2 separate regions of the Homo sapiens genome follow, and region 1 is linked to region 2. Evidence: promoter capture Hi-C in 16 types of primary human blood cells and fetal thymus (Javierre and others, 2016). All regions are on one chromosome and are shown on one strand. Each heading gives the region's core, a stretch centred on a gene start or on the middle of the fragment in contact. The rest is flanking DNA. Distances are from core to core; before and after follow the strand shown.

Region 1 (5,843 bases), core at 1,218-3,717, 9.1 Mb after region 2:
AGGAGTATAGTTTTCCTTTTACACATGGTAGATCTGAATGGGTAAAAGGTCATCCTGAAAATAACATTAGTCAGGCACTTGCCTGCCAATGTGCTCTTCACATGAGCACAAGCGTTTAAAGTTACTGCTGAGTCCCAGGAAAGGTACGTAGCTCTGGACACGCCTTCGAGAGGGCAACCCCTGGGGCCCTCAGTCAACGTGCATCCTGAGGGAATCAAGGCAGAGAACCCTGACTTGGCAGTGAGTCTTCCTCCCTGTCTGGCTGCTGTCCACTGCAGGCCCTGCCCTTTCTTTTTAGGGGGTTCAGGAGCTGACTGCCCGAAGCCACCTCACTTGCTGTACTCAGAAGTCGGACTTGGAAACAAAACCAACTCACTGAGTGAAGAACAATTTGCAATATCTTAGAGATTAAGTCATTTCTGGAAGCTTAAAGGATCCTTCCAAGTGACTACCGTGACCTTAATCACAAAGGAAAGGCACTGTATCACCTCCCATATGGTTACAGTACGAAAAAGGTTGAGGGACATTTTAAAGAATTTTTAGTGGAAAGCAGAGTTGTATTGAATCCAGTGGATAGTTTTAACGTCTCCAAGAAAGATGAATGGTGAGTTGAGAGAATAGTTACAAAGGCCCAGGCATCTACACGAAGTTAGAAGAGATGCAGAAAAGGCTGCTAAGAGGCTGGTGGGAGGACCAGAACGGGCCATTCAGTAAATACCTAAGACATGCCTACTACAAGACAGCCATGGTCTCCACCTCCCAGGGCCTCCATCCCAGGTAGAACACTCATCACTCTGTCCAGCCCCTTCATTTTACACATATGCGATTGAGATCTCGAATAATGAAGCCACTTAGCCACCTTATTTGTGGGAGTCAGAATCGGACTGCAGTATTAAGCGCTTTCCTTTACAAAGCGATTTCTTTTTTAGAAGTTTTACTCGATATTACTGTAATACAAGACATTTTCCAATATTATATTAGTAACAGTTTAAGGGGAAAGGCTTTTTTCTTTGCCAACTGCTCCTGAACCAGCTCTTCTCGTCATTATTCACTTGGTTGCCATCAGCATTCAAACACTGATTATGCCACTGTCACAGGAAGTGTGTGCTAGTTAGGAAATCAGATCAAAACTGAAACTCTAGAATCAGTCCTTAAGTTTTAGTTTTATTTTCCCTGAAAACATTCCTCCTTAAACGAAATTTTTTTCTTTTTTTTTGGTTTTTGAGACGGAGTTTCGCTCTTGTTGCCCAGGCTGGAGTGCAATGGCGCGATCTTGGCTCACGGCAACCTCTGCCTCCCAGGTTCAAGGGATTCTCCTGCCTCGGCCTCCCGAATAGCTGGGATTACAGGCATGCGCCACCACGCCCGGCTAATTTTGTATTTTTAAAAGAGACGGGGTTTCTCCATGTTGGTCAGGCTGCTCTCGAACTCCTGACCTCAGGTGATCCGCCCGCCTAGGCCTCCCAAAGTGCTGGGATTACAGGCGTGAGCCACTGCGCCCAGCCACTAAATTTCATAAATGGTAAGATATCCAACCTTACCAAATGTATCTATAGTTTATATTTTTGACAGGCTGCATAATAAATCCATAGGGCTCTATCTGAATTTCAACAAGGATTATTCAGTAAGAAGAAAATGAGTGTTGTATCTCAGCTGCGCCCATCAGCTCTATTCCCCGAATGACCGTGAGCTTGAAGGAAAGCCATTTAACGCACACGGTGCCGATGGGTGTCTTCTGCTTGGCGACATCGTGGGCTTTATCCTACTTCCTCAAGGAGGCATAAAAGATGATTTTTTCCCCACAACAATGAGCTTTCTTACAGACATATTAAACGGAAATGAAATGTGCTACTCATTCCCAGCGTTGCAGAACCAGGTGAGGCCCGAGACAAAGGCGCGGGATGGCCGGGACGCCAGCCCGGGGCGGAGGGGCTGGCGGCGGGAGCGTCACCCGCACCTCCGCGGGGAGACGTCCAAGCCTCGGCGCTCCCAGCCCGGCCGCCGCGCCCCGCTCCAGGCTGGGGCTGGGGCTGGGGTCAGCCCCGCAGAGCAAGGGGCGGTGATGTCATCCTCTCGGCGAGCTTGGCTGCGGGCCGGAGGCGAGGCCCTGCGGGAAGGTTTCTCGGCACCGCTCACCGGGGCGCTCTCTCCGAGTCACGCCCGGTGCCTCCCCGCGCGGGAAGAAGCTCAATCCCCTTCCCGCCCCCCGCGCCGGGGAAACGGCGGCAATGTCCGGGCAGAATGGGGCCGGGCGGAGCGCCGGCGACCGGGAAGCTCAGGCCGTGGGCTGCCGAGACTGGCCTAGCTGAAGGAGGTGGGCAGCCAGGCCTTTCCGGGCAGGACCGCGTGTCCTTCCGCGGCCAGGGCTCTAGGCCTCCACCCTTCCGTCGCCGACCCGGCGGTTACCTCCTCCGCAGCCTGGTAGTCTTCCATCTTTCCTCCGGCGCGTCCCCTCCGGCTCCCTGAGTGGCGCGGACTGCGCAGGCGCACTCAGGCCCCGCCCCGGACCTGCCACGCCCCTCTCCTCTCGCGCCTGCCTCGCCCATGCCCAGCTCCCGGGCCCCGCCCTTCGCTGCCCGGACCCTCAGTGACCCCATCCCTGGGCGGGGCCCGTGGGTGGACCCTGAATTCGCCTCTCCTCCTGTCCTCTGGGAGGTGGTAGTTTCCATGGGAATCCGTGAGGGTAGCCGGGCAGCTCCCTAAACCTTAGCAACAGAAACAAAACACACGTACAAAAGGCAGTCCTGGAGGGGAAGCGTGGTCCCGGCCCCTCCTCCGGTTTGTACTGTGTGGATTGACGCGGACGTTCAAACCCGCTCGGACACCTGGCAACAAACTCGAAAGTGACTGCTGAAGGCAGTGCGCCCGGTGAGACGTTGTTGCAGTTCCCTTGGGGACTGGGATTGGCATGCTTTAGCTATCTGAACGAAACTTCCCTTTGGGGAGTTAAGTTTTCCAGGTAAATGAGAATTTTTCCTTTAAGCACCATTAAAAAAAAACATTTTGGGTGGAAAATTTTGTAAAATGTGGCACACTTCCTGACTACCTTAACCATAGTGAACTAGACAGACTTTATTTGTATGTGGGTTCTTTATGGAAATTAGGAATTGCACTGGGCTCTGGTAAACTGCCCTCCACGGAAAGCTGGGGCATATGCATCTATTGGCAGGTATTCTGAGGCTCCGAGTTTTGATTTTGGCGTTTGCTTTTTCTGGTTTCGTCATGCACTTGAATTCAGGTTGCTGGAACCCACTTCCCATTCCCCAAGAAAGAGCTGACTGCAAGGGTCCCAGGGATTTGGTAGACCTAAACTTCAAATCCCACATCTAATCCATCAACAACCCTTGTTATTTCTACCCCATATGCTCGGGACCCCAGTTAAAGATTGATATCTCTCATCTGGATTATGACCATCGGACTGTAACCTGGTCGGTCTATCAGGGTCTTATTAGAGCCCTTCAAGAGGAACCTAACCCAACGACTCCTCCCTCCCCTCACCCATTCTGCCCTGCCATAAGTCAATAGTTACTAAGTTGTCAGACTATAGACTAATCTTAGTGATCTTTGGATGACTAAACTTTTAACATATCTTAGCTCAAAATCTCCTACAGAGAGCCATTCTGTGACCACGGCATCTAAGGTAGCCGACCTCCTCATCCTCCACCCCTGCATCCTGTACATTTTCCTCATAGCACTTCTCTCAGTTTGCAAGAACGTATTTATGGTTGCTTGTTGATGGTGTGTCTCCATTTAGAAACTAAGTACCATGCAGGAAGGATCTGTTTTATTCACTAATGTATCCCCTTCCTTCCACATTGTGCCTGGCACATAATAGCTACACAATTAACATTTATTTATTTATTTATTTAGAGACAGGGTGTCATTCTGTTGCCCGGGCTGGAATGCAGTGGTGTGATCGGAGATTTTGAGCTAAGATGTGTTGAAGTTTAGTCATCCAAAGACCACTAAGAGCTTGAACTCCTGGGCTCAAGGTATTCTCCTGCCTTAGCCTCCTGAGCAGCTGGGATTCCAGGCACTAGCCACCACACCCACCTATTTTTTTAATATGTCTTTTGTAGAGATGGGATCTCACTGTGTTGCCCAGGCAGGTCTCAAACTCCCGGGCTTAAGGGATCCTCCAGCCTCAGCCTCCCAAAGTGCTGGGATTATAGCTGTGAGCCACCATGCCCGGCCTAAAATTTATTGCATGAATCATTTCCCTCATGGGTGTTAGCTTTGCCTCAGACCCAAATGGAGAGAACTGGGGAGTGGAGGAAGATGCAACTACCTGCCTCCTTGAGGGAAACAGGGCTGGCGAGAGGAGGGCAGAGCCCTGACTGACACAAGGCTGCTTGGCCCTGGGTGTTCGGCCTGAGCGAGGAGACTTGCTGGGCAGGCTGGTTGCTTTACCACACCTGGTCTTCCTCTCCTTGGATTCTGAACTTTATCTACCTTTTGAATTCCTTTCTTATTACCTGGCTTCAACTCCCCTGTCCTGGTGTTTCAGTCGTGCGCCTCAGTCCACATGTGATTCTGATGCTGACATTGCTTTGCCTGCCTGCCCTTCTCAGTATCACCTGAGATCTCGTTTTGGATGTTCTCTGCCTACCTGGTTCCAAGCTCTTGGCCCCACCACGATCCTGAGCCAATCAGGAGCCTCTGAAATCTTTTTTCTTCTGCTACTTTGTTGTGGACCTGGAGTTCAGTAGCTAAGTGTCACAGAATTATGTGCAAAGCAAGAGTAAACCGGTTCTGAGCAAACACCTGCAATGGAAGAACATGACACTTGGGACAGCCTTTTCAATTTTCCCCACAACCTTTTAGGAACTTCCTAATTTAAATCAATTTCCTGAATGTCTGCTAGGATGGTGCATAATTAATGCATGGATCTTGTTATAACTGCGGATCACCAGCATGCACATAAATCAACAGAAAACATGCAAATGTGCATTTTAAAAATGCTTACATGATTTTAGCTTTTATACATTGGGTACCACTCTCCAATTTTAACTATTAAAGAACATTTGTTAAATGATCGCGATGTATGACATTTTGAGGCTGCCAGTAAACGGATGAGCTGGTCTGTTTATCTTCACAACTATCTGTTCACTTGTTCAATACACATATATGGAGCACTCCCTTTGTGTCAGGCTCTGAGCTGGGGGTTGAGGCTACAAAGTTGACTAAAACATGGCCTTTATGGAATTTTTTCTTTTAAACGGATATATCTGTAAATAGGAGGGTTTGAATTCTCTAGGCTTATGTGATGTTGTAGTGCTTGGAAAAATGCAGTGATGTGGTATTATATTCTGCCCAACTGATGTAGTCTGTAGGGCTAAGGAATTTAAAATCGTTAAGACATTTGGCAGTTCACCAGATGCCATTTCCAGCACCTTCCATCTGCCACGAATGGATGTCCATCAGAAGCATTGGAGCTCAGACACCTTTACTCGTAACTGCTCATGAATCTTTGGCATTCTGCCATATTTTAGAATAATGTTTAGTTTCTATGCAGTAAGTCAGTGGAGTGAATCTTAGGTTTGTTTTTCAATTTGGAGGTTAGTGATAGGTTGGCAGGTTTGCGTGCAATCACCTTTCTTTTCTGGAGTCAAATTTCTTGAATACAGACTGTGGGACTGGAGCTGCCAATACCTTTATTTAGCAAGTGTGGGCCTAATAATCATAGCAATCAATGAACTGTCACATCAATAAATAACATCAATAATATCCAGCAGTGGCTGGGCGCAGTGGCTCACACCTGTAATCCCAGTACTTTGGGAGGCTGAGGTGGGCAGATCACCAGAGGTCGGGAGTTCGAGACTAGCCTGACCAACATGGAGAAA
Region 2 (6,053 bases), core at 3,554-6,053:
GGCATCTTACCACAAATATAACCTACTTATCTGGGTTACTGAATATGAAATGATCTCTAAACAAACTCTTCTTGCAGTATCTGTTACAGATGTTCTATTTTTTAAAACCTGAAACCTGATAAGATTTCTTATTCCTTAGGATACTTATTTTAATCTTTTTTTTTTTTTTTTCAAGGCGGAGTCTCGCTGTGTCGCCCAGGCTGGAGTACAGTGGCTAGATCTCGGCTCACTGCAAGCTCTGCCTCCCGAGTTCATGCCATTCTCCTGCCTCAGCCTCCCGAGTAGCTGGGACTACAGGCGCCTGCCACCACGCCCGGCTAATTTTTTGTATTTTTAGTAAAGACAGGGTTTCACCGTGTTAGCCAGCATGGTCTCGACCTCCTGACCTCGTGATCCGCCTGCCTCAGCCTCCCAAAGTTCTGGGATTACAGGGGTGAGCCACCGCGCCCGGCCCTTTAATCTTTTATCTTCAGGATTTTTATTAGGGTACCAAATATTAAATTATAGTATGATTTTTAGCATCCTTGAGTACAAACGTCTCTGCAGATTTTCAGGTTGTTGAAACTAGTTAGCTGAGGGAGCAGAGAGCAGGGTCTGCATCTTGGCCCTGGAGCCCCTCTAGCTCCTGTGATGGTGGAGAAGGCATAGCTCTCTTACACTTTACTGTTTCTCCATTTCTCCCAACACAGCTTATATATATATATATATATATATATATATATATATATATATATATATATATATATTTTTTTTTTTTTTTTTTAAGACGAAGTTTCACTCTTGTTGCCCAGGCTGGAGTGCAATGGCGCGATCTCGGCTCACCGCAACCTCTGCCTCCCGGGTTCAAGCAATTCTCCCGCCCCAGCCTCCTGAGTACCTGGGATTACAGGCATGCGCCACCACGCCCAGCTAATTTTTGTGTTGTTAATAGAGACGGGGTTTCTTGAACTCCCGGCTGGCCTCGAACTCCCGACCTCAGGTGATCCGCCTGCCTCCACCTCCCAAAGTGCAACCCAGCTCATATTTTTAGAAAGCTAATGAGTAGAATAATTTATAATCATCTCTATAAATGTATATAAATTAACTAAATGCCTTTTGTTTCATTATACTGTGTTGGCTTAGAATGCCAGAGTTTAAAACCACAGCTTCATCATTTACTGTTCTGTAACTCAGAGAAAAACACTTAATTTCTATAAATTTCTGTTTTGTATATAAAAATGGGATAATAAATTGTAATCATGTCATTAGGCTGTTATAAGGTTTAAATAATATACATAAAGCACTTAACACAATTAGCATAATAAATGCTGGCTACTACAATGATAATATTTCTATGAGTTGTTCTTCATATGAGAGGCATCACCCATCATTATGAGCTAATTAAATTCATTCATAAATATATGGACAAGAAAGTTACAGCAAAAGCAGTTTTAAAATATTTTAGGCCAGGCACAGTGGCTCATGACTGTAATCCCAGCACTTTGGGAGGCCGAGGCAGGTGGATCACCTGAGTTCAGGAGTTTGAGACCAGCCTGGCCAACGTGGTGAAACTCCGTCTCTATTAAAAATACAAAAATTAGCTGGGCGTGGTGGTGGGCACCTGTTATCCCAGCTACTTGGGAGGTTGAGGCAGGAGAATCGCTTGAACCTGGGAGGAGGAGGTTGCGTGAGCTGAGATTGTGCCATTGCACCCTAGCCTTGGTGACAAGAATGAAACTCTTGTCTCAAAAAAAAAAAAAAAAAAAAAAAGTGGCTCATGCCTGTAATCCCAACATTTTGGAAGGCCGAGGCAGGAGGATTGCTTCAGCTCAGGAATTCAAGACCAACCTGGGCAAGCTAGCAAGCCCTCGTCTTCACTTAAAAAAAAAAATTAGCAGGGCATGGGGGCATGTGCCTACAGTCCCAGCTACTCAGGAGTCTGAGGTAGGAAGATGGCTTCAGCTCAGGAGGTCAAGGCTGCAGTGAGCCATGATCTATCTTGCCATGGCACTCCAGCCTGGGTGTCAAAGCAAGACCCTGTCTCAAAAAAATAAAATATAATATCTTTGTTTCTTGCTCTCCCTCTTGTCATCTTCTAGGGGTCTTTCAAAAAGTTCAAAAATATGTAGATGACTAACTCTGGAAAATACTGGAGTAGACTGTGTTGTAATAGAAGTGCAGTGACTCACTCACTCCCAGAAACTGGAAACAGATACAAATCAGGTCCCAGATTTCCTTTTGGCATCAAGCCTGCTTTAAATTGCAGAAAAAGATGGACTCAAATTTTGATTGTGGGAATGATGAAAATGACAATGAAATCGGCTACTGAAAAAGGAAATATATCAAGGTTTGGAATCAAAAGGTATTATCTGGTGAAAGAATAAAGACATTTTAATATATACTTTGTTTTCTGTAGTATTAGAAATATTTTAGAATATCTTCTCCTATATGAAAGATTACCTTCAAAGAAGAGAAAGCATCTAATGTGCACAGAACCGCAGTGGGTTGCTGTCAGGCAACTTGAACTCTTTTTATGATAGAGGATATCAAGTTGACATGAGCTGACTCAAAGGAACATCAAAGTACTCACCGTATTAACATTGACAGATTTATTTGTCGTGTAAGCAACTGCCAAGTTAATTCTGTCTTTTGTTTCTCAGATTAATGTGAAGGCTCAGTAAACCAAGCTGAGTTTTCCAATGGACAAGTGGAACTCAGCCACAAAGCTTGTTTAAAGTTTTGTTGTAACTCATTAGAGTTGTGGTATGGTGCTTTTTCCCCAAATGATGGGGTTTTTTAAATGAAATTCCGTAGCGCTCATGGGTGCATGTAGCAAAACAATGGCCTAAAGAGAACCATTTCATACAAAACAGTAAAATTTTTGATTATTAAATAATACTGTCAACCACTTAGACATTATTTGTCCAACAAACCCCCACTGAGGGCTTACTCTAGCAAGCTGTTTGCTTTAAGGTTTGGCCACCCTCTTCCTGGAGCTCACATCTATCTGACGAGACAGATAAACAATAAAGAATAATGGACAGTTAGACCATGGGAAAGGCTTTGTAAGAAAACAGAGAGCCTCAACTTTACCTATTATCTTTTCATATAGACGTACTTTGTAACCTTATATTACTAATTCAAATTATACAGATCCACATGTCATGTTTTCTGACTTCCAGATTCTTTTTTTTTTTTTTGGAGACGGAGTCTCGCTCCACCGCGCAGGCTGGAGTGCAATGGCGCGATCTTGGCTCACTGCAACCTTCGCCTCCTGGGTTCAAGCGATTCTCCTGCCTCAGCCTCCCTAGTAGCTGGAATTACAGGTGCGTGCCAGTATGCCTGGATAATTTTTGTATTTTTAGTAGAGATGGGGTTTCACCATGTTGGCCAGGCTATTCTCGAACTCCTGACCTCAAGTGATCCACCCGCCTCGGCCTCCTAAAGTGTTGGGATTACAGGCGTGAGCCACTGCACCCGGCTTCTAGATTCCTTTTTTTTTTTTTTTTTTTAATAGACTCAGGCGATCCTCCTGCCTGCGTTTGCTGCATAGCTGGGAGTACAGGCACAAATGACCACGCCCATCTCCAAATTCATTTTTAATTCCAGCAGTAGGAAAAAAAGGAAAAGGCCAAGTTTGCAGATGGAACCCAGAAGTGTGTGGGGCTTCGCTGTGAAATCACTTGTAGCTTAACAATGGCGTGGGGAATCTCAGAGTAAGCCCGGAGTTAGTTGAAAGGAGTCTTTAGCCAAAACGTTTATAATTTATTCTGGGGCGGGGCCGGGGGAGGGGGCGGTGGCGGTCAGCAGGCCTGTGGGAGGAGGGTGTTCAAAGGAGTAAAGGGGGCTCAAAGAGAGAAATAGATTCTTGTTTCCTTTTTCATGTCAAAAGTTTTATTTCATGTCAAAAGTTTTATTTCAAAGGAAGACTAAATATTACTCTTATTCTGCCTGAATGGCCAAGTTTCCAAGTTTTTCTCAATCAACATGCAATCCTGTTAATCTAAAATGCTTGAATTTCTTGCTACTCTGCTTTACAGGGTTCCGTAACTTTTTTTTTTTTTTAAATCTGCAAGGTGGAAGAAAAGTCTAACACTTTCACTTTAGAGTTACGATACTGACCAAAAAGGCACTGACAGCCCAGGTGCGCTGGCTTCCTTCCAGCTGAGCGCTGTCCCCGCGCCGCCTCCAGGGGTCGGCAGAATGCTGAACAGTAAGCATGGCGCATCCTCAACCTTGGCCCCACAATGAATCACCCGAGAAAATTAAAAAACCACCAGGGCCCGAGCCGCAGCCCAGGCTGGAAAGTGGGGTGTTCAGGAAGACCCCAGTACTTTTTAAAGCTGCCCGGGAGAGTCCCACGTGCAGCCAAGGGTGGGGAATTACCCACTTAATAAAAACTTCCCCTGTAAATGCGATGTTTCATTTTTAATGTATAACAGTTTTCTGAAATATTACCGTTGTTTTCATCGTATAGGTACATGTACATGTGCACACACAGACACATGCATGTGTGTAAATACTAATTTTAAAAATAATGGTTACGAGGACATTTACATCGCTCCAGTTGGAGTCCTGTCCAATCCTGAGGGCGGGTCTAATGAGGGGCCGTACCTTCCAAGATTTCACTCCGCCCCTCGACGCCGCGCGGCGCTGCGCGTGCGCAAACGCCTTTCCCTGGCGAGCCGGATCTCGGAGCGTCCCCGCGCCTCTCCGCGGCCGCCCGGGGAGGGGAGGGCCCGTCCCGCCCCTCCCCGTCTCTCCCCGCCCCTCCCCGTCCCTCCCGCCGAAGCTCCGTCCCGCCCGCGGGCCGGCTCCGCCCTCACCTCCCGGCCGCGGCTGCCCTCTGCCCGGGTTGTCCAAGATGGAGGGCGCTCCACCGGGGTCGCTCGCCCTCCGGCTCCTGCTGTTCGTGGCGCTACCCGCCTCCGGCTGGCTGACGACGGGCGCCCCCGAGCCGCCGCCGCTGTCCGGAGCCCCACAGGTAGGGCAGGGCGGGCCTGGCTGGCCGCTTTACGACTCCGACTCTCCGGGAGGCCCGGGCTGTCCACAGTGACGCTTCCCACATCCCACCGGCGGGCAGGGGCGGGGGTCCGGGCCCCCGAAGGAGGTGTGGGGAGAAGCACCCCAGGAAATGGGGGCGGCGTGGGAGGCCGAGGTAAGAGGAAAGGGACCCACTGGGGCTGCGTCGCTGTGAGTGAGCCTCGAGCCACTCCACACCGACTCTCCGGCGGCCCAAGCCGGCGCGCGACCTGACGGGGCTTTGCCGTCGAAGCGCGCGGTTGCCGGTGATCAGGCCTTCGTAATGGCGCCTTCCCGGGGTAGAGCCAGCGCTTGGGCAAGGAATGTTTGTGTGCTCGGGAAGTGTGGAAGTTGCCCACTTCGCGCATTTCCAGGCCACTTGTGCCTGCTCGGCCTGCGATCGCGAGGGTCCGCCGTTCCGAGGCTGCGGGGCTCCGCCGGGCTCAGGTGGGCAGAGGGAGAGACCTGGCCCTCGCGCGACGTAATGTTTTTGTCGGATGTTGGAGGAGAAGTTCTCACGGCGGGGCGCGATCGGCGGTGTCCGCATCCCCTGGGGACTCAGCCCGGCCTCTGGGGGCGGGGCCCAGCAGTCCGGGTTGGAGAGTCCTGCAGGTGCTTCTGATGCCAGCTGAGGTGGGAGAATCGAGGCATCCTAACATTAAAACGTGGCTGATGCTCACCATTCCTGCCGTAGAGTCGTGCCTACCTAGGCCAGTATCAGCCTTTTTTCAGTAGAATGGTAGGGAAAAGTTTGAATATTTTAAAGAGCAAGTGTTCTGAGAATGACAAGAAACTATGTCGGTACACCTCTTCCTAGTCAAGACTTGAATATGAACACTCTAAATACAAAGGCGAAGGGCACGGTAAGTGTCACTTTGACCAACAAGGTGAAACCCCGTCTCTACTAAAAATAGAAAAATTAGCTGGGCGTGGTTGCAGGTGCCTGTAGTCCCAGCTACTCGGGAGGCGGAGACAGGAGAATTGCTTGAACCCGGGAGGCAGAGGTTGCAGTGAGCCGAGATCGTGCCACTGCATTCCAGCCTGGGTGAGGG

Evidence for each region. The method cuts DNA at HindIII sites, captures the fragments that hold promoters and counts their contacts. A CHiCAGO score of 5 or more calls a contact.
Region 1: a contact is called between the fragment with the promoter of DYNLT1 here and the fragment with the promoter of GINM1 in region 2, in 1 of 17 cell types (neutrophils). The highest score is 6.1, in neutrophils.

The regions. Positions count from the first base shown.
Region 1 is chr6:158,642,276-158,648,118 of GRCh38, forward strand. It overlaps DYNLT1 (dynein light chain Tctex-type 1), which reads right to left and starts at 2,468. Exons shown (of 5, transcript NM_006519.4): 1 at 2,407-2,468. The coding sequence starts at 2,433. It also overlaps a transcript of SYTL3 not described here. RefSeq lists an enhancer at 1,839-2,782 and silencers at 1,906-2,235, 2,396-2,625. The HindIII fragment of the contact is 7,871 bases long and covers 425-5,843 here.
Region 2 is chr6:149,561,572-149,567,624 of GRCh38, forward strand. GINM1 (glycosylated integral membrane protein 1) reads left to right here and starts at 4,804. Exons shown (of 8, transcript NM_138785.5): 1 at 4,804-4,963. The coding sequence starts at 4,844. RefSeq lists enhancers at 3,971-4,100, 5,351-5,400 and a silencer at 4,531-5,080. The HindIII fragment of the contact is 6,228 bases long and covers 2,704-6,053 here.